Regions from separate parts of the Homo sapiens genome. Here regions 1, 2, 3, 5 and 6 are each linked to region 4. Evidence: promoter capture Hi-C in human tissues and cell types (Jung and others, 2019). All regions are on one chromosome and are shown on one strand. Each heading gives the region's core, a stretch centred on a gene start or on the middle of the fragment in contact. The rest is flanking DNA. Distances are from core to core; before and after follow the strand shown. Region 1 holds the start of ALKBH4 (alkB homolog 4, lysine demethylase). Region 2 holds the start of ORAI2 (ORAI calcium release-activated calcium modulator 2). Region 3 holds the start of SH2B2 (SH2B adaptor protein 2). Region 4 holds the start of CLDN15 (claudin 15). Region 5 overlaps ATP5MF-PTCD1 (ATP5MF-PTCD1 readthrough). Region 6 holds the start of ARPC1A (actin related protein 2/3 complex subunit 1A).

Region 1 (4,206 bases), core at 1-2,500, 1.2 Mb before region 4:
GAGCCTGAGCCCAACAGAGTCCTGGCCCCAGGTATGAAGCTGGTGGGAGGCTCCCACTTACCGTCAGGAAGGGGTTGCCCTCCAGGCTGAGTTCCTCGAGCTTGGGGAACTGGCACAAGGCAGTAACATCCCCCAGCTGGTTGTTGGCGCAGCGGAGGACACGCAGGTGGGACAGGCCCAGGTTGTCCGGCAGCGTCTCCAGGTGGTTGTTAGACAGGTCAAGCTCCTGCAGCTGCGTCAGGCGGCACAGGAGTTTGGGGTCCAGGTGCTCGGAAAGCAGCTCCAATCCTGACAGGCTGGAGTTGGGGGCAGAAGGCTTAGGGGGCGGGCAGGCTTTGCACCCTACACCAATCTGCCCCGGGTACCTCAGAAGGCTTTTTCACCTGACATTTCTCGTACAAGTGTAGCCGCCCCGCCCATCCCCCCGTTACTTTATTTTTAGAGACGGGGTGTCACTCAGTCGCCTAGGCGCGATCATAGCTCACAGCTGCCTCCAACTCCTGGGCTGAGGGATCCTCCCGCCTCAGCCTCTCGAGTAGCTGGGACTAGAAGCGCGCGCCACTACTCCCGACTCCACACCACTTAACAAAAAAAAAAAAAAAAAAAAAAAAAAAAAAAAAAAAGCTGCAACTACTTTAGGACTCGGGGGCATCCTAGCCCCCTCTAGGATGCTCTTCCTGATCCTTCGGGGGCTCGTCTGTGCTTCCCAGGCCCTCTAACGATAGCGGCAGGCTGTGCCCCTAACTGTCCGGGCTCCCTTCAGGGGATGAGGCCCCTCGGGGCTCCCGGCGAGCGGGTGGGGCCACGATCTCCCAACAAGAAGACATTTGGACCACTCTGCCGAACCCAGAGGGCGATAACGGGGACAAGCGGGCCGTTGGGGAGGGTCCCCGCTCTTCTCCCCGACCGCCCGGCCCCGAGGACACAGCCTCACCCGCTGCCCGGCTCTTACTCCAGACTCCGGATCTTCCCCAGCCGGTCGCTCTTGGGGCGCCCGCGCTGCATTAGCAGCCGCGCCGAGAGGGGGCCCATGGCGAGGAGGCGCAGCCCGCGCTGACCCAGTCGGCCACCCCGGCGTGTGGCGTCGCCCTGCGTCTCCTGGAGCCCGGCACTGGCGTCCGCGGTAACTGAGCCCAGGAGGCGGCGCCGCGCGAGCCCGTGGGCGTTAACGACCGGAAGGAAGCGGAACCCAGGCCTCGTGCCCCCGCCCGGCGCGGACTACAACTCCCAGCGGCCCCCACGGCCGCGCCTGCGCACTGGCCACGCGGACGGCGCGATGGCGGCGGCTGCCGCCGAGACCCCCGAAGTCCTTCGGGAATGCGGTTGCAAGGGCATCCGGACCTGTCTGATCTGCGAGCGGCAGCGCGGCAGTGACCCGCCCTGGGAGCTGCCCCCAGCGGTAAGGGGTGGGAGAGGGGCCGCGCCCACAAACGTCGCTCTGCATCTGGGGAAACTGAGGTCCAGCTTGGCCATGATAGGGGCCGGGATCGAAGCCTGTGAGGGACCCTTACGGTAGGGGTGATGCAGGGTGAGGAGATGAGGGCTTTAAGGAGCGGGCTTGGGAGTGGGGAAGGAGCTGGAACGTGGGTGGGTTCGATTACAGGTCACCTCGGGGACTCTGGGGGGATCTGCCTGTAAACCTCGACGTAGCCTCTCGGGTCTGGCGCTGGGAGCTTCACGGGCCTGCAGGGAGATGACACGGAAAGGGTCGATCGAGGGTGCTGAATACCAGTCCAACGGTGCCTGAAGGCCGTGGACTGCAATGGGCAAGGAGACAGTGAATTCCAGTTAACTAACGAAAAGGAACTCAAGGATCGCTGCAACCCAGGAGCTGGAGGCTGCAGTGAGCTATGATCGAGCCACCTCACTTCAGCCTGGGCGACAGAGCGAGACTCTGTCTCACAAAAAGAAAATAAATAAAAAAAGAAAAAGAACTCAGCGCCTTTGGGCTGGCATGGAAGGACTGTGGTTGGTTGCAAGGGCATTCCAACCCAGAAAACTGCGTGGGGTAGGAAGGTGGATTGGTGATGCCTCAGGTGAGAGAGATGAGGCTGGAGAGGTTGTGGGGGGGGGGAGGTCTGATCACAGATGCTCCCCGGTGCATCAGCTGAGCAGGCTGGACTTGTCCCAAAGGCCCTGGAGAGCTCTTGAAGGGTTTTAAAGGAGTGATGAAGTCAAATGTGAATTTTAGAAAGATCCTGGGAAGGGAACGGGCAGATATGAAGGTGTGGAGGCTGGTAAGCCAGTGAAGACTGCCCCAACGTCCATGGTAAAAGTGCCCAAGGTCCTATGGAAACAGCATGGCATGCCTCATGAATTAAACATAGAATTACCCATGATCCGCAATCCTGCTTCTGGGTATATATCCAAAGGAACTAAAAGCAGGGTCTGGAAGAGATATTTGCACACCCATGTTCATATTCACGACATTATTCATGACAGCCCAAAGATGGAAGCAAACCAAGCATCTATCAAGATACCTGGGCCGGGTTCAGTGGCTCACGCCTGTAATCCCAGCACTTTGGGAGGCTGAGGTGGGCAGATCACCTGAGGTCAGGAGTTTGAGACCTGCCTGGCTAACATGGCGAAACCCTGCCTCTACTAAAATTACAAAAACTTGCCGGGCTTGGTGAGGCACATCTGTAATCCCAGCTACTCGGGAGGCTGAGGCAGGAGAATCGCTTGAACCCAGGAGGCAGAGGTTGCAGTGAGCCAAGATCGCACCACTGCACTCCAGCTCAGGTGACAGAGCAAGACTCCTTCTCAAAAAAAAAAAAAAAAAAAAAAAAAGAGATGACTTGATCCACAAAATGTGGTGCATACACATAGTAGAATACTATTCAGCCTTAAAAAGGAAGGACAGGCCGGGCACAGTGGCTCACACCTGTAATTCCAGCACTTTGGGAGACCGAGGCAGGCAGATTGCCAGAGCCCAGGAGTTTGAGACCAGCATGGGCAACATGGTGAAATCCCACCTCTACAAAAAAATTAACCATACATGGTGACACGTACCTGTAGTCCCAGCTACCCAGGAGGCTGAGGTGGGAGGGTTGCTTGAGCCTGGGAGGTCAAGGCTGCAGTGAGCTGTGATCACGCCACTGCACTCCAGCTTGGGCAACATAGTGAGACCCTGTCTCAAAAAAAAAAAAAAAAAAAAGGACATTTTGACATATGTTACAGCATGGACGAACCTTGGGGACACGATGCTAAGTTAAGGAAGCAGTCACAGAAGACAAATACTGCATGATTCCTGTTGTGTGAGCTACGTAGGGTAGTCACAGGGACAGAAAGTAGAAGGGTTGTTGCCAAGGGCTCAGGAAGGGGAGATGGGGACCTGTTGTTTAATAGGGAAAGAGTTTCAGTTTTGCAAGATGAAAAAGTTCTGAATGGTGGTGACGGCTGTACAACAATATGAATGAACTTAAGAGTTTTAATTTGTGGAAGGGGCCAGGTGCGGTGGCTCATGCCTATAATCCCAGCCCTTTGGGAGGCTGAGGCAGGAGGCTCGCCTGAGTCTAGGAGTTTGAGACCAGCTTGGACAACATAGCAAGACCCTGTCTCTACAAAAAATTTAAAAATTAGCTAGGTGTGGTGGTGTGTGCTTGTAGTCCCAGTTACTTGGGAGGCTGAGGTGGGAGGATTGCCTGAGCCCAGGAGGTCAAGGCTGCAGTGAGCTGTGAGCGCCACTACACTCCAGCCTGAGTGACAGAGCGAGACCCTGCCTCAAACAAAAAAAAAGAAAAGAAAAAAATTGCGGAAAGTCTGACCCGTTCCAGTGGCCATGTGGAGGTGACATCTTCCCAACCCGATGGCTATGGAACAAGGAGAGTGAGGTATCCAGGATCTCAGGGCACTGGGGCAGTTCCTCACTGGCTTTCCAGCCTCCACCCTTCATATCTGCCCCTCCCCCCTCCAGATCTTTCTAAAATTCACATTTGACCTCGTCACTCCTTTAAAACCCTTCAAGAGCGCTCCATGGCCTTTCGGACAAGTCCAGCCTGCTCAGCCGACACACGGGGGACTCCCAGTTTTAATGTTTCCCGTGGGAGGGCCCCAGGAGCAGGAGGAGATAGTGCCAATCTCAGGAGGGGTCTGAGCTGGAGTCGGTGGCTGGAAGTAAAGCATTGGAAGGGGCTGAGGTCCCTGGAGGGAAGAACAGAGAAAGACAGCGGCCCACAGTGAGTGGCAGCCCAGGGTGTGAGGAGC
Region 2 (4,500 bases), core at 570-3,069, 1.2 Mb before region 4:
AGTGCCTCATGCCTGTAATCCCAGTGTTTTGTGAGGCCAAGGTGGGAGGATCACCTGCGGCCAGGAGCTGGAGACCAGCCTAGGCAACAGAGTAAGACGCTGTCTCTAAAAATAATTTTTTTTGACATGGGGTCCTGCTGTGTTACCAAGGCTGGAGTGCAGTGGCACAATCTCAGCTCCCTGCAAATTCTACCTCCCAGGCTCAAGCGATCCTCCCGCCTCAACCACCCGAGTAGCTGGGACTACATGTGTGTGCCACCATACCTGGCTAATTTTTGGTATTTTTGGTAGAGACAGGGTTTTGCTATGTTGGCCAGGCTGGTCTAGAACTCCTGAGCTCAAGTGATCCGCCCACCTTGGCCTCCCAAAGTGCTGAGATTATAGGCATGAACCACTGCGCCTGGCCTCTAAAAAGAATTTTAAAAAAGAGGGACCTTTCCTCAAAGACAAGATGCTGCCTGCATGGAAGGATTCCGAGAGACGGGAAGGCCACTCCAGGTGTACATGTGGGGTGGCTCTCCTTGTCCAGGAGATATGGAGGGAAGACTGGCTGCCACCTGGGGGGTGGAGGGGGCAGGGAGATGTGGGTGGAAGACACTTGGAGCCTGGGGCTGTGGAATGAGCCAGAGGGTCTGGGCAGCATGACTGGGCGTCCAGCCACAGGAGAATGGAAGAAATTGGTGAGTGGAACGGTCTGGGCACTGCTAGATCATTCTGGTTTGGGACCACAGTTCAACCCAGGGAAATGGCTGGCCGACTGGCAGGAGTGGGACGCAAGGGAGAGCCTGGTGGCCTCCAAAGGAAGGAAGGGTGAACAAGAGGGATGCCCCATCAGTAAGGGTGGGCTGGGCTCAGGTCTGAGAGTGGAGGTGAAGAGCTCAGGGCAGTGAGGGCTGAGGGTGGCTTCCTGGGAGCCGCCAGGCCTCCCATGCCCCATCGGTGAGGCCCTGCAGATGTCCCCAGAGTGGGTGGGATTGTGGAGGAAACGATGTCTGTCTGCCTGGAGCTGGGTCTTGAGACAGGTCTCCAGGTCTCGAAGGAGCAGCCCAGGAGGGGGTTCAAATCCATCCTTTATGTTCCCAATGCCAACTGTGTGTGCCAGGCCCGGTGGCCCAGGGGGAGGGACAGAGTCTGGGCCTCACACTGGATCCCAGGCAGGGGGTGGGGTGGGGCAGGATGGAGCCCTGTACTTCTGTCAGGTGGCACAGACCCTAGAGGATGCTCCGGGACTGAACCTTGTGGGGTTGCTTTTTTTTTTTTTTTTTTTTTTTTGCTTTAATGAGCAGTCCGAGAAAACAGGTCTTGTAGAATAACGCGATCCCCTCTCTAGAGATGAGCTTTTCTTCCTGGCTGGCCTACTGGACACATTTCCAGAGGGCGGTCTTGGAGTTTGACTTCCTCTAAGCATCTGGGGCACCGGCAATGGCGAGTGTCTCTCTCCAGCAGGCGCACTGGGAGGGGGCCTCCCAGGGGCGCTAGGCTGCATCCCTGTCCCTCCCCCAGGGACGCCCCGGTGTCCGGAACCGGCTGCGCCGCCGACCCTGATCCTCTGGGCGCCGCACCCCGCCAGGGATCCCGCGGGGTGGAGGTCACCAACCCCGGATGGGTAGTGACCGCGCCCGGGCAGCCTACAGTCGTCCCCTTCCCCGCCGAGCGTCCCCGGTCCAATTCCGGCCCCCCCAGCCGCAGGGACCCCGCTCCCCGCGCCAGGCCCCCGCGCCGCCACACTCACCGGAGCTGCCCTCGCCCCGCCCGGCTCGGCTCCCGCTCGGACTGCGTGGCCGCGTGGCCTGTGGCCCAGTGGCCCGGCCGGGGCGCCGAGCGCGGCCCCCTCCCTCCTTCCGCCGGTCGCGCGGGGTCCCCCGGCCCCGCCTCCACCCCGCCCCCGCGGCCGCCGCAGCCGCTGCCAAGGCAACCAGGCGCCGCCAACACGTGACCCACCCGCGGGAGAGCCGCGGCCACGTCACCCGCCGGGCCGGGAGGGGCGGGGCTGGCGGCGCCTCCTCGGAGAGTGGGGGGGTGGGGGTCCCCGCCTCACCTGGAACCACCCCGGGATCGCGCGAGGGAGAGGAGCAGGGGAGGTGGGAAGACCCCGACCCGCGCGCATCCCTCCTGCCCCAGCTCCTGTCCCCGGCCCCAGCTCTGGGAGTCAAGGCGAGGCCCCCCACCGCCCCATCGGGGGTCCGGCTACCCACAGACCACGAGCTGGGCTTTCCCTGCCCCTGGGTCCGGGCGCAAAAGGGGAGCCCCAGGCTTGGCAGGGTGAGCCTCGGGGGGTGCCCAGCATTGGACGCTGGCTGCGTAGAGGGGCGGGGAGTGGGGACAGGGCGGGCGGGTGCAGGTGGGCAGTGGAGGGGAAAGGAAGGTGGGGAGGGGAGAATCCGTCTGGCCACGCCCGAGTTTTCACAGGATTTTTTTTTTTATTTTTTTGAGACAGGGTCTGGCTCTGTCGCCCAGGCTGGACTGCAGTGGTGCGATCACGGTTCAATGCAGCCTCGAATTCCTGAGCTCGAGTGATCCTCTGCCCTCAGTCACCCAAAGTGCTGAGGCTACATGTAGGCAGGAGCCACCACACCGTGGTAGTTTTTAAAAAATTTGTTTTTGTTTGTTTTTTGAGAGGGAGTTTTGCCCTGTCACCCAGGCTGGAGTGCAGTGGTGCCATCTTGGCTCACTGCAACCCCCGACCCCGGGGTTGAAACGATTCTCCTGTCTCAGCCTCCGAGCTACAGGTGCACGCCACTAGCCTGGCTACTTTTTTGTATGTTTAGTAGAGATGGGGTTTCACCATGTTGGCCGGACTGGTCTTGAACTCCTGACCTCAGGTGATCCTGCCTGCCTCGGCCTCCCAAAGTGCTGGGATGATACATGTGAGCCACTGTGCCCAGCCAAAAAAAAAAAAAAAAATTCTTTTTTTAGAGATAGAGTCTTCCTGTATTGCCCAGACTGGTCTTAAACTCCTGGCCTCAAGCAATCCTCTCTTAGCCTCTCAAAGCACTGGGATTACAGGCATGTGCCACAATGTCCAGCTAATTTTTAAATTTTTTAAAAAAATTGAGATGGGTCTTGCTATGTTGCCTCTGCTGGTCTCGAACTCCTGGGCTCAAGTGATCCTCCCACCTCAGCCTCCCAAAGTGCTGGGCATAGAGGCATGGGCCACCTTGCTTGGCCCCTGCCCAGGGTGTTGGATGGCACCATGAAGAGCTTGCACTGAGCTAATTGGGGGTTGCCACCCAGAGTGCACTGCCACTCACAGACCCAGCGAGACCCCTGGGGTCCCAACTTCAGTGCAGCGTGCTGTCCTTCTCATGCTGTTCGCAGACAGCAGCAAAGAGTTTCTGCTGTGCCCTGGCCCCTTCCACTCCCTACTGCAGGGAGCCTCTCACCTTTAACGGTGAATTCTCTGCGGTTTTACGAGCGAGGCAGTCAAACAGGAGCATTCTTTTCAGGAAGTGCAGCACATGAATAATTCACAGACAGACAAGATGGGTTCCTATCAGCCCGGCGGTGCCAGACGGTCCCTTGGAGTCCTTCCTCCATGCCGGGTAGGCTGCTGCGTGCCCTACATAGGATTTTTCCATCTGTCACAACAGCATTGGACCGTGACACATTTATCCAAACGAAGGAAAAATTCCACTCATGTCAGCCAGCCCACATTTTATGACAATTGGAAGAGTAGATGTTACGGACGCCAGGTTAAATCCATCTACACTTCGAGTTGTCTTTTACAGGCTACTGCTGACAGCCAGAATGAAACCAGGAGGACACTTAGTCTAATAAACCAGGTTTCCCCCTCCGGGTTACTGACCTAAAAGGCAAGTTAGGCCCTAACATGGACATAAGCAAATCCCAGGGTTCCTTACTGGCCCTCCTCCTGCCACCCCCATCAATGGCTATGGGTGAGGGAACATTTGAATTTCAGGGGTAAAGTCCTCAAAAAGCAATCATGTTATGGCTTTCCAACGTGGAGTTCTTGGTAAAATGAATCTCGGTGGCTCATGCCTGTAATCCCAGCACTTTGGGAGGCTGATCACCTGAGGCCTGGAGTTCAAGACCAGCCAGGTCAACTGGTAAAACCCCATATCTACTAAAAATACAAAAATTAGCCAGGCATGGTAGCGCACGCCTGTAGTCCCAGCTACTGGGGAGGCTGAGGCAGAAGAATCGCTTGAACCTGGGAGGCGGAGGTTGCAGTGAGCCAAGATCACACCATTGCACTCCAGCCTGGGCCAGAGAGCAAGACTCTGTCTCAAAACACACACACACACACACACACACAAAACAGGAAGAAAACACTTTGTAAACGCAGTAGTTTGCATCATAGATGAATGTGCTTTCAGCAAAGGAGTCCTTTGCTTGTTGAATTCTCACTCTTGCAGCGACTTCACTCATCCTTGAGAAAGCTTCCTGTGCCCGTTACTGATGCCGCCACCCCACAGGCATATTTATCCAGCATGCCCAGACAGAAGCAAAATGCAAGTTGTAATTGCCAGTGCTTTGCAG
Region 3 (4,547 bases), core at 205-2,704, 1.0 Mb before region 4:
CCACCACCAGACCTCTCCCAAAGCTCCTGGAGCTGAAAAGTTCTAGGTCACTCTCCCAACCTCTTCCTGCGTGGAGTGGGGAGGCCAGGAGGGAAGAGGTTGGGAGAGTTCAAGGTGGGACACAGTAGTGGGGGCTTCAGCTCAAGAGGCAGTCAAAACCTCTTGGGGAAACCACACCCCCTGCCCCCAGTCCTCCCAGAGGAGCTCCAGGGACCTGACTCTGGGACGCAATTCCTGCCGGGAGTTGCCGGTCCCTTAGCCAGGAGGCAGGCAGCACCATCCCATTTTACAGGGTAGGTGATGTTGGCTCGGGGGCATTGGTAGGGCTCCACCCAGGTCTGACAGCCTAGCCTGAGGCTCTCCCTTGCACTAGCTCGAAGTGCACGTAGATCCTGGCTTATTCGTGTTCAGAGTCTCGCCTGGGGCTGCCCGGTCTGCCTTGCGTGGCTCCTGAGAGGCTCCAGTCACTGCAGACTTCCCTCCCTGAAGGCCCCCACTTCGGGGCTGCAGGGGGCCAGGATGCGTCCCTGCCTCTGCCCGGCTTCAGCCCGCTGGGCTGGCGCGGTTCCGGCCCGCGCAGCCCGCAGGTTCATCAATGGCCGAGGCCCAAGGGCCTGAATGGAGGGCACGAACCCGCCCCTTCTTAAAGGCGCCGGCCTCTTGGGCACCCTCCACGATCCTCCCGGCAATCGGGGGCTCCGGGGAGCTCCCCGGCTGGGCAGGTCGAGAAAGGGGGGCCTGGGCCAAAGGGAGGGCGTGCCTGTGGCCTGGAGGAGGTCCTCCCCGATCCCATCCCGTGGCCCTCACCCTCATTCTAGGTTGACGCCCCCTCCCAGCGCTCCCAGCGTAGGGAAGAGACCTGGGCACCCCTTCCCCCAACCAGAGACCCCTCCTCTAAGGACCCGGCTGCTCTCGCCCCACTACCCGGCCGGGGCCCTAGCAGGGGGCGGGGGCGCAGCTGCTCCAGAGGCGGCTCGGCCCCTCCAGCGGCTCCCCGCCCCGCCCGGGATGGGGATCGGGGAGCAGATCCCAGCCGGGGGCGCCTCCCCTCCCTCGCGCGCCCTCCTCCCTCCCACCCGCGCACACAAAGACGACACGCGCGGACCAAGGCGCGTGCGGCCGCTCTCCTTCGGGCAGCGGTGCGCACACAGCGCACGTCCCCGGGGACAGACAGGGGTCCCGGGGGAAGGACCAGGGAGCGAGGAACTGGGTATAAGGAGGCCATACCTACAGGCGCGCAGCTGCGGCCGAGCGGGCTGGGGCGCCGGCTGAGCGCTGCCCGGACCGCGGCCGGGCTCCCCGGGCCCGGTGGCTCATGGCCCGCGGCGGACTGGGCTCCCTCCCTCGTTCACCGCCTCGAAGGCTCCTGCGCTCCTCGCGGTCCCGGCGCGTCCCCCGCGCGGCTCTCTGGCAGCCGAGCTCCGCGCGCTCCAAGCCCAGCCCCAGCGCGGCGCGCCCCTCCGCCCGCGAGGCGCGCGCCTCCCGGCCCCGCCCCGCCCCCGCCCCCGCCGCGAGCCCCGGCCCCGCCCCCCCTCGCGCGTCCTGGCCCCGCCCCCTCCCGCCCCCACTTGCGCCGCTCAGGCCCCGCCCCCGGCCATCCGCGGAGCCCGAGCGGCGCCGGTGGCCGGTGCTTGCTGGCTCCCCGCAGCTGCGGTGCCGAGACTGCCCGGTCCTGGGGCCCGGAGAGAGGGGTTAGGAGCCGGCTCCGAGTCGCCCCATCTGGGCGGGGGTCCCCATGTCGCCGAGCCGGCCCCAGGCCAGGCGCGGGACTCCCACTCCTCCTCGTGGAGGCCACCCCTCGAGCCCGCGGTGGTGGTGGCCCCGGGAGCGCGGAGCGTGGGGCCGGGGGAATGTCCTGCGTGGCGGGTGTATGGGACGCGGACGCCCTCGAAGCGCCCCTCGCTGACGGGTGCTTCGCGGGAGCCGCCGCTGTGGCCAGACTCTCCGCAGCAGGGACAATGGGAGCCTGGAGGAGGCCTGGATGTCGCAACGGAGGAAGTCGACGCCTGGTTCTCATAAATCTCGAGGGCGCCACCACGCCCCCTCCCTGCAGCCCTCCGGTGCGGGAAATCGCCCCCGGGCCACAGGGCGGGACGGCCCCCCTGAGCGCAGTGCCCCCACCACCCAGCCTTCGCTGTGATGGGGGCCTGATGCCACCCGGAGAGGTGTCAGAGATCATAGAGGGGCGATGAGGGGCCACAACCCTGGCACCTTCCTCACCCCTGCCTGGCTCCAGAACTCGCCTGCTTTAGGGCAGAGACCAGTGGGGCTGAGGAAACAGTCCCGCTGGGCTTTGCGGGGCATTTGTAGCCTGACCCCTGGTGCTGAGGGCACAGCGCGGGGGCTCTGGGAGGCTTCCTGAAAGAGGTGCAGGGGGCTCAGCAGGCCTGGAAGGGGTCTGAGAGGGGAGGGAGGGCTTCGGTGGGGGCAGAGGTGTGGAAAGGGCCGCTCAGAGAAGAGAGTAGTCTTGCTCCTGGAGATAGCAGGGGGGGACCCCTGGGTGTCTTCTCCCCTCATCTCCCTCCTTGTCCCCTGCCCCCACCTCTGGCAGTTCTGTCCTGGTCTCCTTGCCAGCCGGAGCTGCCTCCATCTGTCGCCCTCCCGGGCCCAAACTGACCTCTGACTTTTCCCAGAGCCATTTCCCATCTCTAATTTACAGACAAGGGTTTTTATCAAACCCTTCTTAGGGATGGAAAGGTGGGGCTTCCAGAGTTGAAGGTGGAGGGGACAGAGCCTTCACCTGCTGCCCAAAACCCCGGTGCTGCCCTCCACGGGGGCACGGAAGACAGGCAGACCCCTTCCCTGCCCCACATCTCGGCTCTGTTCCCTCCGCAGGACCAGGCCAGCAGACACTTTAATGAAAGCTTCGGCAGTGGGCCAGCCCTCGATCGGAGCTGCACACAGGCCTGCACGCCTGGTTGGGAACCAGGACACCTATGAATGAGGCCGGGAAGGGGGAGGAGGGGGTGCCCGAGAGTGGGAGAAAGGGAAGCTCCATACATGGCCTGGTTGTGGTCTCCACCCTCCTGGGAGAGGGGAGAGCCTGACCCGCGGTGGACTAACCTGGTTCAGAGTAGTGGGCTGAACTCCACTGCTGGGATGATAGCGGCCAGAGAGGGTCCTGAGATGGGAAGCCATGGGCAGGACAATAGCTTGGATCCATCCCCAGGGAGGAAGAAGTGAGGAGGGGCCGGCGGCAGAGCGCCTCGGACCCACAAGGAGGAACTGATGGAGATGTGGAAGTGGCTGTGGGGGTGGAGGGGGCGTGGTTGGCCAAGAGCAGCTGTCGCCTCGCTGGGGATAGGAATGAAGGTCAGGGAGGAAAGGTCCATCCTGGGTCCCTGAGGGCAGGAGGCTTGAGGGGCTTGGAAGAAGTCCTCATGGGGGAGATGAGGGGTGCTGGGACGGGGACCCCAAAGAAAGGCCCCTGGATACACATGCTTTAGACTGTTCAGAACTAAAATGGAGACAGAGGTAGCACAGGGGACCCTGGCCTGGTGGGCTGCAGTGGGGGACCTGGGTTTGCAGCCAGTCTTGTGACAGCTGGACAATGAGTTAATGCACCCACTCCAGACCCAGAGAATGCGCTCCTCTATCTGAGGCTGGGCTGGAGGTGAGGTGGCCCAGAACCTGTGTCTCGGGGGGTTCCCATGCGAGGCTGGTGCTCAGGGAGATTGATGGGCACGGGCTTTGCAGCCCCTGGCAGGCGGGGGCCCATGGGAAAGGGGAGCACAGAAAGGGAAGCAGAGATTCCCCAGGAACTGACGTGGACCAAGACACGTCATACACCCAACCACAGCCCGACAGGTGGTTTTTTTTTTTTTTTTGAGATGGAGTCTCACTCTGTTTCCCAGGCTGGAGTGCACTGGCACGATCTCAGCTCACTGCAACCTCCGCCTCCCGGGTTCAAACGATTCTCCTGCCTCACCCTCCTGAGTGGCTGGGATTACAGGCATGCGCCACCATGCCCAGCTAATTTTTGTATTTTTGGTAGAGACGGGGTTTCACCACGTTGGCCAGGCTGGTCACGAACTCCTGACCTCAAGTGATCCACCTGCCTCGGCCTCCCAAAGCGCTGGGATTACAGGTGTGACCCACCGCGCCTGGCCCCGGGTGGTTTTTGAATAAAGGAATGGGTTTCCCTTTTTGATGGTGCTACTTGTCCTCTCAAAAGCACTCGGACACTGGATCTGGGTTTCAGCAGAGCTCTGAATGTACTCATGGAATTCCTGGAGATGAGAAGAGGGGGAGGAATGTTCTGTGTGCCCAGCTGTGAGGCCAGCCCCAGCTCCCAGGGGTGGCACCGCAGGCATCCCCACCAGCCTCCAGTCCCTCCAGCGTCCCAGAGCACAGGGCACCAGGGTGGCTGCAACCGTGGTTTATTTCAAATGTGCAAAGCTAAATATGCAACTACAAATCTAACTCAGGAAGGCCTGCCAGTGGCCCTGAGAGGTGGCCGTGCTAGGGTGGTCCACAGCCAGTTCTGATTGGCTAGGAGACGTTCAGACCCCTCATACCAATCCATGAGTCTGAAGAGACTGGGGCTC
Region 4 (4,580 bases), core at 632-3,131:
TGAGATTCGTCCTTCAGCCCCATCATGTGCTTTGGGATGAGTGTAAATAAAACGGGGCTGTGGCTTGGGAACCCCCGTGTCTGCGTTGAGGGGAGGGGTGGGTTCTGAACGCTGGGCACAGGGGGCGGAGACGTCACTCCTGGTCCTCTCCTGCCCCTGCCCTCCAGGTTGGCACGGGGTTCTTTGTCCACCCCGCAGCCCAGAGCCCACACCCTTCCTTCCTCCCTTTCCTGAAGCCATGTCCTTGAGAGTGCCGGGCAGCTCGGAGACATGGGGCTTTTCCATGGTCCCAGAGTCCTGGGAGAAGGCAGTGACCTGAGCATGGGCGGGCAGAACTTCGGGGCCAGGCCGGGCTTCAGGCCTGCATTCTCCTCTGACCCACTCAGCTACTTCTGTGGAGTTTTCCACAGCAGGCCCCCTTGGCTTCCTCCTCCCCACCCTCCCCTCCCTTTGTCTTCCTGTGGCCTCCCCTTCCTCCTACCTCCTCCTCTGGGGGAGGGGGAGCCCAGTAGGGGAAGGAATCCTGCATCTGGCATGGAGTAGGCGGGGGTCCCGGGAGAGGTCAGAGCCCAGGGAGCCCCAGCTCTCGCCTGTGGGCTGGAAGGTCAGGACTCAGCCCCACCTAGCCAGCTTCGCCCCCTCGTGCCAGGCTCGGCATGGGCCTGTTTTGCTTCACCGCATACCTCTCGTTCCACAGCCCAGGCCAGCACAGGAGTAGGGAGGAGACACCTGAGGGGAGGCCGGAGAAGCCCAGCAGGGCCGTGGGGCCAGGGAGGTGCGCAGCCAGCGCTGATGGCCCCCAGGGACAGAGCCCTAGGGAACCGGAGCAGGAGATGAGAGTGTCTGCTCTGGGACAGGTGCTCTGCACTGGCTCGGGATGGGGACCAGAGGCTGCTAATCCATCATCATTAACGAATAGAGTGGGTGACAGTCCCTGATAACTGGGAACAGGTTGCAGAGCTTAGCCACAGGATCACGCTCCAGGCTGTTGGCCAGCAGGACCAGGCTCGATGCTGAGTCAAAGATCAACTTAGGAGGAAATTTGAGTTTTGGGTGAGAGCGACTCCCTGGTGGCCTCAGCCCTGTGACACTCACATCCAGGACAGTTCCCGGTGCCAAGCGCTGGTTATGTGTGGGGGGCTTGACTCCCTGGTCCCAACGAGGTCTCAGTGTGTTGCCCAGGCTGGTCTTGAACTCCTGAGTTCAAGCAATCGTCTCAGCCCAGCCTCCCAAAGTGGTAGGATTACAGGCGAGAGCCACTGCGCCCGGCCCCTGGTCCCAGTTCTCACCACAGCCCCTGCAGTAAGCAGTCGGGTATGTCACTGACAGAGCAGAAGCTCAGGGGACTAAAACTCCCCGCCTGAGTTCCCTGGTGAATGGATGGTGGGGCCGAGTTCCATTCCAGGCTGGATGGAGCCCAGAGCTGTGGGTCTCCTACCCTCCCATCCCCTCATTCCAGCTTGATCTTCCTTAAGAGACTCATACGCCCCAACCCCTTGGTCTGAGTATCTTAGATTGTTCTCGTGGTTCCTCCGTCCTTCACCACTGAAGGCTGCTGTTCATTCTCTCTCCGTCTCTGTCCCTTATTGCTCTCACGTCTGTCTCTGTCATCTTTTCACTCCTTGTCCCTCTTACTCCGTTCTTTGGCCCCCAATGAAAGCTGAGTCAGAGACAGACGCTTCCCCTCAGTTCCCAGTGCCTCCCTTGGGGGCCCCTCCTTGGCTGTATCCGTCAGTGGCTCCAGGGTAAGTCTGCCCCCCCCACCCTCGTGGGGCGGGGAGCCCGGGGCAGCCCAGAGGCTGGGGGGAGGGGGTGGACTTTTGGCCCGTTTCGGTTATTCCCTCCATCTCGTCAACAGCTGCCGCGCGCAGGCTTAGCTCATTCCTCTGACCTGCCAGGAAGCAGAGAGACCCACAGAGCAGGAGGGAGGCAGAAAGTGGAGACGGACCTGAGCCCGAGGAAGAGGCAGGCAGAGGCTGAGGCTGATTCCACCCCAGCCTGCCTGGACAACCCTCCTTAGCCGCAGCCCCTTCCAGTTCCCTAGGGGTTCTGCCCCTCCCCCTCTCTGGGGCACCAGCCCCCCAGGGTCCTGCATCCCACCATGTCGATGGCTGTGGAAACCTTTGGCTTCTTCATGGCAACTGTGGGGCTGCTGATGCTGGGGGTGACTCTGCCAAACAGCTACTGGCGAGTGTCCACTGTGCACGGGAACGTCATCACCACCAACACCATCTTCGAGAACCTCTGGTTTAGCTGTGCCACCGACTCCCTGGGCGTCTACAACTGCTGGGAGTTCCCGTCCATGCTGGCCCTCTCTGGTATGGGGTGGGGAGCGCTCCAGGGAGAGAGGGCGGCGGGGAAGCTGCAGAGACCCCAGGGGAGGGCGGGTACTTCCGTGAGGATGCAGGGAGCCCTGAATTAAGCTCTGCGGGTCTGAGTTCCCGCAGCCAGGAGTGCTGGGGGCGGCCCATGCCTAGAACTGGAGTGAAGACCTTGCCACACGTGGCCCCCTGCGCTAGTGTGGCGCTTTTAGCTGTTACAGGTGCAGGCACCAGAATCAGACCCCCTTTCCCAGCCCTGTGCTGTGGGCAAATGATGAAACCAGCTTCATCTCCCACCTGTAGGGTTAGGGTGAGAGTCCCAGTTCACAGGTGACTGAGAAAGTGCAGAATGTTAGCGTGATGTTAACACACATAGGCACTCAGTACGGTTGAGCATGTTTTGGGGGTGGGATTGCTGGGGTGGGCAGGGGGAGGAGGCCCCATCTTGGATTCTTAGAGGTTGATCAACTTCCAGGCTCCACAGACTCCCCAGCCTCACTGTCGGGGGGCACTGGTCTCCTTGTCCGGCTGATGTCTATAAAGGGCCCCTGTGAAGGGAGGCGTCTTGCAAGTTGCAGGTTGAGCGTCCGCTGTAAGGAGGCGGTGTGTGTGCAGGTGTGTGGGGCTTCCAGGACAGTGTCTTTCTGGGGTCTTAGAGGGCTGGAGCCAACAGCTCTTTGGGCCCAGGGCAGTTCTTTCTGTGGCTGCGGCACCTTCCCGCTCCCTGCTCCCCGCTAAGATGAGGCCGCCCCATTGTTTCTCCGGGGCAGTCTCCCTTCCGTCTGCCCTATGCCAGAGACTGAGCGCTGGCGACCGTGAACTGTGTGTGGTGCCGCTGCACGCCCTCCTGGGTCCTTCAGGGCCAGTCCACTCACCAGGCACCGTGTGGCAGGGAAGGAGCCGAGGGCGACACTGGCTGTGAAGCGGGGCTTGAGAGCTCACCCCCGGGGATGTTGGAGCTGCTCTGAGCAGTTAGGGGGCCTGGGTGGGTCTCCTGTGCCCCCACTACTCCCAGCCCCTCCTGAGGCAGCGGCAGAGGCTTCCTGTTTTCATCCATCTCTCTAGGACTGACTGTATGCAGGGCCGGCGGGCCCCCCCCCCAAAAAAAACCCTATAAAAGCTGAGTACAACTTGGGCCAGAACCCCAGAGTTCTGAGTGTCCAGAAGGGACACTGGAGGCAGCCCCTACACCCACTTCCCAGACACATCATGCTGTGAGGAGGGGGCTCTGCTGTGAGCCTGCACACCTGAGAGGGGCACCCCTGGCAACTGCATGAAAGATGGTGCCAGAGTCCCCAGGGCACAGGGGTAGAGGGTGACCAGGTTCCGGGCCTTGGGCTAGGTGCTTCTGCCTACATTTTTCCACAGTGGGGAAGTAGGGGGAAACTTTTACAGAAGCAAGGTGCAGCACCCCACCCTGAATCACACAGGCAGGAGAGGGGAGCCGGCATTCAGACTCCACGGCTGGGGTGGTCCTGGGAGAGGGACCTGACTGCGTCTCCCAACCGTGCACCCCAGCCCCTGGCCACGCAGCCCATGTGCCCCTGGGCTCTTCCATAATCTCTCCATTGACTGCTAGAGCCACCTGGGGACTCAGACTCGTGTCAGCCCCAGAGGGAGTGGCTGGGAGGAAGAAAGTGCTCCCAGAGAACTTTGTCCCTCCTGCCTACCCCCCGACTCTGCACCCTGCATCTCCTGGCAGGGACCCAGCCTTTCCCCTTCAGCACCAACAGTTATGCCCCACCCGGGAAAGGGGTGCAAGGTCCTTGGAATGCTTGGCAACTATCAAAGACAGAGAAGGGAGGAGAAGGGGGAAGCAAGAGGGAGCCCGCAGCCTCCAGCTCTGAGAAAAGGGAAACTGAGGCACTGAAAGACTGAGCTAGACTGACCTGGATCGGTCCTGGGCCCAGGATTCCACCTAGGTCAGAAACTCCACCGGGTGTGGTGGTCCACACCTGTAACCTGAGCTACTCAGGAGGCTGAGGCAGGAGGATCGCCTGCATCCAGGAGTTCAATCAAGGCTACAGTGATGAGCTGTAGTGGCGCCACTGTCCTCTGGCCTGGGCGACAAAGCAAGACCCTGTCTCTAAAACTGCCCTAGGCCCTCTGCTGTACAGCACCGCTGCCCCCTACCTGTTACTCCAGGAAGAAACCAAGGTCAAAATGTCCAGCACTGGGCTAGGACAGTGAAGGACTTGGAGTGGAATCAGACGTGGGGAAGGCGACAGCGATGCTTAGCTGTGGTTTCTGTATACCCAG
Region 5 (4,416 bases), core at 844-3,343, 1.8 Mb after region 4:
AAATCCTAAGACTTCTTTAAGAGGAAAATGAATTGGAACCGTAGTGGGCATTAGTCTATAATATGATGCTCTCCTCCCTGCCAGAACTTCAGGACAAATATTTGAAATGGCCTATCTTGGCCTGGTGTGGTGGCTTATGCCTGTAATCCCGGCACTTCGGGAGGCCAAGGCTGGAGGATTGCTTGAGCCGAGTTTAGACCAGCCTAGGCAATATGGAGAGACCCCATCTCTATAAAAAAAACCACACAAGAAAAATTAGCTGGCTGTGGTGGTGCATGCCTGTAGTCCCAGCTACTCAGGAGGCTATAAGCTCACAGCCAAAGGGGAGAGGTGGAATCCAGGTAGGCCTAGTTCAGGAGCTGGTATGTGCTTATAGTTCAGGCTATGGGGATGAGAGACCTTACTGGCATTTGTGCTTGTCATCTTTATCAGCCAGTGAATGCAGGGCGAGGGGCTTAAACAGCCAGAGCAGGACTAGGTCCCTGAATGTCAGCCAGACTCAACTGTGTGCTCAACTTCACTCAAATGTGAAGCCCAGCAGGGCAGTGAGCGCCTCTTGCGTTTGCAGGTTACTACCGGTACTACAACAAGTACATCAATGTGAAGAAGGGGAGCATCTCGGGGATTACCATGGTGCTGGCATGCTACGTGCTCTTTAGCTACTCCTTTTCCTACAAGCATCTCAGTGAGTGCCTCTGCGGCGTCTTGCCTTTAGTTCCCATGAGAGGGTGGTGGTGACTGATTTCATTAGATACAGCAGCCCACCTTCTTCTGAGGCTGAGGGACCTTTAGTTAAAGTTCCTTATGTTTCCACCTAAAAGAATTGGAGGGACCTATCAGAGTACAGTATGTGGGATATTGTTTGAAATGAGAAAATTGTGACAAAGAGAACACAGGAAAATCAAGATGAAGCCAGGGTAAAGAGAGTACTTAGAAGCATTCTTTAAAATACAGCACACTGTGAAAATTTGGCTCGATTTTCCTAGTAGCCAATGCAGAAAGAGAAATGAGTTGAGTGGGATAATCTGGTACCCCAGAAAAGCATGGCTGTTCCGGCTCTGAGGCTTGAGAGGAGCTTGTCTGGTGGGAGATTGGCGGGAGGTGTCGGTGGCAGCCTCTGACTAGGCTGTTTCTGACAGTGTAGTGTACACCCCCTACCCCCACCTCACTCCCATTCTGTGGCACCAGGGCGGTCCTGCCTCTGAAGGACGGGTTCTCTGGGGCTGTTTGTCTGAGCGTGTGTTCCCTCTGTTCCTTCTGGAAAGAAAGTGGTTGGCCAGGTGGCAGGTTGGCTCCTGAGGTGTCTTTGTGCCCCCCGGGTCTGCTGATTCTGCAGAGACACCGGCAGGCGGGTCATGGGTCATCTCTGAAGGGAATTCTCAGGAAGGCTTTGTGTGATCTCAGCCTGCTTCCTGCCATGCTGTGCCTTCACTGTAACCTTTTAAGATACTTACCATCTTGCCTTCCTGACTTCAGAGCACGAGCGGCTCCGCAAATACCACTGAAGAGGACACACTCTGCACCCCCCCACCCCACGACCTTGGCCCGAGCCCCTCCGTGAGGAACACAATCTCAATCGTTGCTGAATCCTTTCATATCCTAATAGGAATTAACCTCCAAATAAAACATGACTGGTACGTGTGCTGATTGCCTGCCTGTCTGCCGTAGCCATTATCCCATGTTCCAGGGGCTCCTGTGGCACAAGGTGGGGGGAGGTCGTCTTTCCAGGCCGTTGACCGGTGAAGGCCTTTGTGGACTTCCCAGACCACCACTCTGGTCGTGTCCCAGCTCCCTGGAGGGCAGGGTGTCATCCAGACCTTCCCGAAGCAGCAGTGCCGAAGTCCGTCCCTTGCCATGAGTGCTGTGGGCAGGTGCATTTGCAGACATTCTGGCCTTTAGTTGGCTGGCCCTTTATGGTGTAACACAAAGGCTTGCGTACCTGAGAGCGCCAGATCCCACCCCGGCTGTCCTGTGGCTCCAGGCAGGGATGGCCCGCATCCTGTGTTTCTGCATCACCCTGGGGCATCAAGGGCTACAGGGTGAGGTGACCCGGCACTGTCTGGAGAGACCTCAGGCAGCACTCACGCCCAGGCTGCAGGGATTGTGGCCCTCCGGCTGAGGCGGCTTCTCTAACAGGAGGCTTAGTGGGTTGGGGGTGATGGGGAAAAGTGAGGGGCTATGGCGGCCCCTCCCTGCTTCCTCTTCATCAGAGCCTCATTGGGGGTGGGATACTGTGCCCCAGAAATAGGTGCCACCAGACATCTGAGCTGAGGTGGAGGACCTGCCTGCTGGCTCCACAGATCAGACTCCCAGACTTGACCAGCTGCTTGCAGGCCTTCTGGGCAGCTGCACTTCCCTTTGTGAGGCTGACATTTGTTGAAAGGGACAAGAAAGCTACGCCGTGATTGCAGCCAGTGTAAAAGGGTTGGCATGAGACCCTTAATTAATGAGACATGGCTTAAAAAACAAGCTTTAATCCATTTCATAAAAATTGTTCTTGCAATTGAACACAGCCAGGCCCACATGCCCAGCAGGTTGCAGGAGACAGTTTCACATTTTCCAGGCTCAGGACAGGGCAGTCTCCTCCACATGCCACAGGTGTCTGAGTGACAGTGTAGACGCCTGATGGGCAGGAGGTAGGCACAGATGATCTGAAGGGGTCATCTATTTAAAAGTCTGCAACTCCAGTTCAACGGACACCTTAAACACTGTCAGGCACGTACCCCAAGAGAAAATTAAGCCCAGAGAAGAAAACCTCAGGCTTGAGAGCCCTGTACCCCTCCTCAACCGCTGCCACCTGGGACCAGGGCCAGCCTGAGGCAATGGGGGCACCTGAATTTGCCCCAAAGGGCTCCCTCATTCAAATCACAGATATAGGCACAGCTTTAGGATTCAGCAGGGCAGGGAGGGAGGAAGCAGGCGTGAGCTGGCCACAGCTTTGAATGACCTACCAGCCCCTGGCGTCACCAAGAACTGGTGTTTAATGAGGGGAATGACCACCGCCACACAGAACTACCTAGCCAAGCCCCTCCCCAGCAGCTGCCTCCCTCCCTGGATGAGGGGAGTTGTGCCGGGAGTCCCAGAAAGGAGGCATCGATGCCCAGCCAAACATGATGTCGACTGCAGGGACCCACAGGACACATGTCCCTTTTTCAAAAAATACTAAGGCAAAATGATAGGAAACTAACAGACGTGGCCCCTCAGAGTGATGAAACCCACGTGTCTGCGGGCCAGCTCGAGCCACAGTCGCGCCAACAAGCGCATGAAACAGTTAAATGCACACTCCCAACAGCGGGGCCCCCGGGCTGCTCGGAGCTGGCTCCAGCTGCTGTCACTGTCCACTGAGAAAGGCCAAGTGCCCTTTGGTGCATCTGTTGGCGTAGTGTCCTTTCTCGCCACACTGGGAACAGCAGGAAGTGGGGGAAGAGGAGAGACAGACAACAACACTGTTCAAATGCAGTTTTCAACTAAGGGAGTGCCCACCAAATCCCAAATCATCCACCAAGTCCCCAGTCGGGACATGACTCTGAAATTCTCAGTGGTACAGAGTTTCTTTCAAATTAGAGGGTGAGGGAGCTCAGGATGGAAAGTGCAGTGGTGCAGAAACTAGCCAGCAACTCCGCAGATGCAAGGGAGAACAAGGCCGCCAGAAGGCGACCTGCTAGCGACCTGCTCTTTCAGGCCCACAACTCTCCCACCTGGACACATGGCCTGCCCAGGGAGGGACTCCCAAGTGGGTAGCAGGACAAAGAGAAGCCCGTGGCACCTGAGCTCCGCCACCCCGTCTGGGGACCAAGCCCTTCTGCACCACAGGCCAGTCACTTACCTCTGAGCCAAGGTCTGGGGTTCCCTGGCAGGAGATGGGAGGGAACAGCATCAGAAGTGTCCCAGCCTCCCCTCCCTTGGGGAGCCACTGCTGGGGACAGAGGGTGGGCTGTACCCAACGTTTTCCCTCGTGGCTGTGACACACCTAAGCTACCTTGGGGACAGGTTTTGATTACAGGATCAGAGAGATGGGACGATGCTTAGACTTGGGTAAGGGGAGCCTGCAGAGCCACATGACAAATCCAGCCCTGACCCTGCCTCATCCCAGTCCTGATTATCCAGGCCCTTCCATAGCTTCTCTTTACTCTATGACTCCTAAAACGGCAGCCTCAAGCACTGAACAAAAGGGTCAGGAGGCAGCTGGGGGCACTGACTCTGTACTGACACCCACCCCTGAGTCCCTGCTGCCCTGAGGGGCTCTGCCCAGTTGGCACCCAACACTCTTGCCAGCTCTATTCCCTGGCTCTGCAATTCCTGTTTTCTTTCTTCTATGTTGGCCAGGATGGTCTCGAACTCCTGACCTTGTGACCTGCTCCCCTCGGCCTCCCAAAGTGCTGGGATTACAGGCGTGAGCCACCGCACCCAGCTGTC
Region 6 (4,462 bases), core at 1,419-3,918, 1.9 Mb after region 4:
ACACACTAGCTATGAAACCCTGGGCAAGTCACTTGATATCTCTAAATCTCATTTTTTTCTTCTGTAAAGTGGATATACCACTGAGATCACAAGGAGAATTAAATGAGACATGTGAAAGCAAGTAGTACAGAGCCTAGCCTGAAATACATGCCAGCAGGTTCCCTTTCTCCCTTTGACCCAAGGCTTTTCTATTTTTTAAATGGAGTTTTGCTCTTGTTGCCTAGGCTGGAGTGAAATGGTGTGATCTCAGCTCACCGCAACCTCCGTCTCCCGGGTTCAAGCGATTCTCCAGCCTCAGCCTCCTGAGTAGCTGGGATTACAGGCACGTGCCACCATGCCTGGCTAATTTTGTATTTTTAGTAGAGACGGGGTTTCTCCATGTTGGTCAGGCTGGTCTCAAACTCCTGACCTTGGTGATCCACCCGCCTCAGCCTCTCAAAGTGTTGGGATTACAGGCGTGAGCCACTGCACCTGGCCAACTCAAGGCTTTTAAACCAACCATAGAACCCACCAGTTAGTTTCCTCTGAGCTTGGAAACGTTGACATATGCTATAAATTCTTGGCCCTACTCCTTTGGAGCTTGAAAATGCCCACAAAAGTGGGCATTTCTGTCCCCTGTTTAGGGTCAGTTTTCAAGACCGTGATTCACCTAGTTCCTAATCACTCTCATTAGCCAATCTAGCAACATCAAGTACTCCAACAAGGTCACCACACCCTCCTCAACATTCAGACAGGCTCCAGTCCAGGCACCAGCCTCACCAGCAGACCATTTTAAACTTCTTTATATAGGATTTGTTTCAGCATTGGATGAGACAACTAGATCAAAGTATCACCACTCCGCGTCCAAAATAGGAGTTTTCCGAAATGGTCCCTTCCTTTAACTGTGATTAACAGATGAACTCCAGAAGATCTCTGAATACTTTGTGGGAGAAAATAGCCATATAAGCTGGGTGTGGTGTCTCACACCCAAAATCCCAGCACTTTGGGAGGTCGAGGTGGGAGGATAGCTTGAGCTTAGGAGCTCCAGACCAGCTTGGGCCACATATGGAGACCCTGTCTTTACAAAAAATACAAAAAAAAAAAAAAAATTAGCCAGGCGCAGTGGCTCATGCCTGTAGTCACAGCTACTCGGGAGGCTGAGGCAGGAGAATCGCTTGAACCCAGGAGGTGGAGGTTGCAGTGAGCCAAGATCACACCACTGCACTCCAGTCTGGGTGACAGAGTGAGACTCTATCTCCAAAAATAAGTAAATAAAAATAAATGAAAATTAGCCCAGTGTGGTGGCACACGCCTGTAGTCCCAGCTACTCAGGAGGCTGAGGTGGGAGGATCTGTTAAGCCCAGGAGGTCGAGGCTGCAGGAAAAAAAAAAAAAAGGAAGACAACAACCACAGTTACCCACTCCCTAACAGGACAAAAACACCTTCCTGACTGATGCCCCTCCTCTGTTTTTAGATACCTGAAAACCCAGGCCCTATGTGAAACCACAAGACTAGATAAAATTGAGGAGAGAGGGCAGAACTAAGATAATCTCGGCAATTTAAGCTACGAGTTGACATAGACAGAAGGTTCCAAAGCTGCAGGAGAACAGATGGCTTTATAATCAAAGATTCTAAGCTATAACTGATTAAGTGCCTATCATGTTCCCAGCAGTGTTGTAAATACCGGGATGGGGCTAGAAACATAAATAAGGCTGACACCATTCTGGTCTTCAAGTCTGGAGGGTTGGTGTTTGGGGAGAGTGGAGGAGATAGAAAAGGAAAGGAAGACGGATATGCATAGAATGCCCAGAAGCAGTAATAATAGCTAATATTTATTGATCACCTACTCTCGGCCAGGAACTATTCTAAGCAATTTATGCAAATAAGCTCACTTGATTCTTAGCAAAACGGTAAGAATCTTTTTATTGCAGATGAGGAAACAGGCGCAGAGAAGCATCTTCCCAGGATCACTCAACAAAGTGGTGGTGCCAGGACTGGCATAAAAGATTCCACTAAATGAATAAGAGCGCCGAGAAGGGTGCAATTTTGACTTGGGGGAAGGCGGTACTCATGCAGGGAAATCTTAAAAGAACTCGGGAGAAGGTTTTTCTCGAGATCGAGAAGGTTCCCCATTAACCGAAGGATTGAGGGCTGCCCTAGAGAGCAGGCAAACATCCTATGGGCGCCTACTGTATGCAGGGATCGACTCTAGACACTAAAGAGATGAATAGTCCCGCGGGTCGCTCGATTACGGGAGATCCTCCTACTTGACACAATTTTAGAGACGGTGACAAATGCCCCCAGCAGAGGTGCAAGTAGGACCCTGGGGGCGCAGAAGGGGCCGTTAATTCGGGCATCGGAGGCGGCTAGGAGCTCGAACATCCTGAGAAAAGCTGCAGGGGATCCACGGAGAAAGGGGATCCCCGCCCCCTCAGGAGGCCCCGGCAGGGAGACCCGGCCGCGCCTCAGCCTCGGGGCCCCGCGGCCTGAGCCCCCGTCTCACTGCCCCCGCGGCAAGTCCGGCGCCAGGCCTGGACAAGAGAGGCCGACAGGGTGAGACGCTCGCCCCTGCTGGCCGTTACCTGGGATCGGGGGAGTCCGGACGGGCTCGGAGCGGAGGATTCGCGGACTCTGGGCAGTCGACGCGAACAGGCTCCGTCGGGCGCGGGCGGAGGACGGAAGCCCAGAGGGAGCGGCTGACAGATCCCGGAAGTGGACACGGCGCCTGCGCGTTGCGACCGCGCGGACGGTCCGCGCATGCGCACAGCTCGGGCGCGCAGTCCGGGGTTAGGCAGGCTGCAGTGGAGGAGGGTACGCCGTTCCATTGGCGTGGTACTGTCGGCGGCCCTTCAGAGGAGATGCTGCCCCACGGAACGCCTGGCAAGTGCTGGCGAAGCGGCATGGGCGTCCCACTCCGTTCCTCAACCAATTTCCTCACAATCGCGAGCCGAAGTGTGGCGCTTTGGCAGTTTCGCAAGGTCTTTTGTCAGGAGATGAGTTACTGAGGATTGGGGGTCTTTGGAGCTCTTGGACCTGAAGAACGATTAAGTTTTTCTCCCTTCAGAGAGCCAAGGTCAGAGCCAGTCTACCTCAGCGCTGCTCCCTGCAGGGAGCCTCCGCCCCCGCCGTGCTCCCTCTGTGGAAAGCCCCTGAAGCCCCCCAGGAACTTTCTCGACCCTTCCTGGGACAGAATCCCCTGCTCCCAAGCAGTTCCCTGCTCCCAAGATGGCGCAGCAGGGATAAAAGGGTTGGGGGAACTTGGCAAGGCCCCCAATTCACAGAGGACAGAGCCTGCCCCGCAGATGCAGCCTCCAAGAAATGCCCTGATCCCCACCTGCAATCAGGCTGCTGCCCTTGAACCCTAGAAATTCTGGAGCATCCCCAGCCCCCACAGATGGGGCTAATCGAGAGCTTTTCTTTTTTCTTTTTTTTTAGACAGGTTCTCAACCTGTAGCCCAGGCTGGAGTGCAGTGGCGCGATCATAGCTAACTGCAGCCTGGAACCCCTGGGCTCAAGCGATCCTCCCGCCTCAGCCCCCCGTGGAGCTGGGACTACAAGTGCACACCACCACGCCTGGCTAATTTTTATTTTTTGGTAGAGACAGGGTCTTGCTGTGTTGCTTAGGCTGGTCTTGAACTCCTGGGCTCAAGCGATCGTCCCTCTTTGGCCTCTCAAAGCCCTCAGATTACAGGTGTGAGCCACTGTGCCTGGCTAATTTTTATATTTTTTGTAAAGATGAGGTTTTCCTATGTTGTCCAGGCTGGTCTTGAACCCCTGGGCTCAAGCAATCCTCTAGCCTCTGCTTCCCAAAGCGATGTGAGCTCCCCCCCGCCGCCGCCCAGCGCCATGCCAGGCCAACCAAGGGCTTGTCTCCTTCCCTTTGGTATTGTAAGGTGAGGTTTATGTAGGTATACTTGTCAAACTCTCAATTTCAGACCCGCTGTGATCTTTTTGAGACGGAGCCTTTCTCTGTCGCCCAAGCTGGAGTGCAGTGGCGCGATCTCGGCTCACTGTAACCTCCGCCTCCCGGGTTCAAGCGATTCTCCTGCCTCAGCCTCCCGAGTAGCTGGGACTACAGCTGCGCGCCACCATGCCCGGCTAATTTTTGTATTTTTAGTATAGACGGGGTTTTGCAATGTTGGCGACGCTGGTGTCGAACTCCTGACTTCAGGTGATCCCGCCTGCCTCAGCCTCCCAAAGTGCTAGGGTTACAGGCGTGAGCCACCATGCCCTGCCAGACCCGCTATGTTCTTTGGAGTTAGTGCAGAGTTCCCCAACTCCTTGGCTGCTGACGGGTGTTGGTCTGTTGCCTGTTAGGAACCCATTGGCACATGAGGTGAGCAGGGCGAGCCAACGAAGTGTCATCTGTATTTACAGCCGCTCCCCATCTCTGGCATTACGGCCTGAGCTCTGCCTCCTGTCCAATCAGTGGGGGCATTAGAGTCTCATAGGAAAGTGAACCCTATTGTGAACTGCATATGCG

The links. The method cuts DNA at HindIII sites, captures the fragments that hold promoters and counts their contacts. A contact is called where the count stands out against the background at its distance.
Region 1: a contact is called between the fragment with the promoter of ALKBH4 here and the fragment with the promoter of CLDN15 in region 4, in 1 of the 25 tissues and cell types used here (dorsolateral prefrontal cortex).
Region 2: a contact is called between the fragment with the promoter of ORAI2 here and the fragment with the promoter of CLDN15 in region 4, in 1 of the 25 tissues and cell types used here (dorsolateral prefrontal cortex).
Region 3: the fragment with the promoter of SH2B2 here is called in contact with the fragment with the promoter of CLDN15 in region 4 in 1 of the 25 tissues and cell types used here (dorsolateral prefrontal cortex).
Region 5: a fragment that was not itself captured here is called in contact with the fragment with the promoter of CLDN15 in region 4 in 1 of the 25 tissues and cell types used here (IMR-90 fibroblasts).
Region 6: a contact is called between the fragment with the promoter of ARPC1A here and the fragment with the promoter of CLDN15 in region 4, in 1 of the 25 tissues and cell types used here (heart left ventricle).

Annotation. Positions count from the first base shown.
Region 1 is chr7:102,461,907-102,466,112 of GRCh38, reverse strand. ALKBH4 (alkB homolog 4, lysine demethylase) reads left to right here and starts at 1,250. Exons shown (of 3, transcript NM_017621.4): 1 at 1,250-1,399. The coding sequence starts at 1,277. LRWD1 (leucine rich repeats and WD repeat domain containing 1) reads right to left here and starts at 1,129. Exons shown (of 15, transcript NM_152892.3): 1 at 953-1,129; 2 at 62-296. The coding sequence starts at 1,032. MIR5090 (microRNA 5090) reads right to left here and starts at 371; the gene lies at 287-371. RefSeq lists enhancers at 1-201, 479-578, 202-728, 858-1,507 and a silencer at 919-1,348. The HindIII fragment of the contact is 23,818 bases long and covers 1-4,206 here.
Region 2 is chr7:102,430,894-102,435,393 of GRCh38, reverse strand. ORAI2 (ORAI calcium release-activated calcium modulator 2) reads right to left here and starts at 1,819. Exons shown (of 4, transcript NM_001126340.3): 1 at 1,733-1,819. RefSeq lists silencers at 1,410-2,189, 2,220-2,359, 3,758-4,052. The HindIII fragment of the contact is 14,608 bases long and covers 1-4,500 here.
Region 3 is chr7:102,283,775-102,288,321 of GRCh38, reverse strand. SH2B2 (SH2B adaptor protein 2) reads right to left here and starts at 1,454. Exons shown (of 9, transcript NM_001359228.2): 1 at 1,228-1,454. It also overlaps a transcript of CUX1 not described here. RefSeq lists silencers at 947-1,486, 1,557-2,136, 3,914-4,098. The HindIII fragment of the contact is 12,688 bases long and covers 802-4,547 here.
Region 4 is chr7:101,235,103-101,239,682 of GRCh38, reverse strand. CLDN15 (claudin 15) reads left to right here and starts at 1,881. Exons shown (of 5, transcript NM_014343.3): 1 at 1,881-2,318. The coding sequence starts at 2,102. FIS1 (fission, mitochondrial 1) reads left to right here. Exons shown (of 5, transcript NM_016068.3): 5 at 1-211. The HindIII fragment of the contact is 32,734 bases long and covers 1-4,580 here.
Region 5 is chr7:99,455,416-99,459,831 of GRCh38, reverse strand. All of the region lies in intron 2 of ATP5MF-PTCD1 (ATP5MF-PTCD1 readthrough), which reads left to right. It overlaps CPSF4 (cleavage and polyadenylation specific factor 4), which reads right to left. Exons shown (of 8, transcript NM_006693.4): 8 at 2,459-3,400. The coding sequence ends at 3,332. ATP5MF (ATP synthase membrane subunit f) reads left to right here. Exons shown (of 4, transcript NM_004889.5): 3 at 569-685; 4 at 1,477-1,637. The coding sequence ends at 1,505. Among named protein-coding and RNA genes, the nearest start is that of ATP5MF, 8.5 kb to the left of the region's middle. RefSeq lists an enhancer at 3,308-4,110. The HindIII fragment of the contact is 8,805 bases long and covers 1-4,416 here.
Region 6 is chr7:99,324,104-99,328,565 of GRCh38, reverse strand. ARPC1A (actin related protein 2/3 complex subunit 1A) reads right to left here and starts at 2,668. Exons shown (of 10, transcript NM_006409.4): 1 at 2,562-2,668. It overlaps LOC105375421 (a long non-coding RNA gene), which reads left to right and starts at 2,758. Exons shown (of 4, transcript XR_927798.3): 1 at 2,758-3,052. RefSeq lists a silencer at 2,388-2,567 and an enhancer at 2,543-3,102. The HindIII fragment of the contact is 7,349 bases long and covers 1-4,462 here.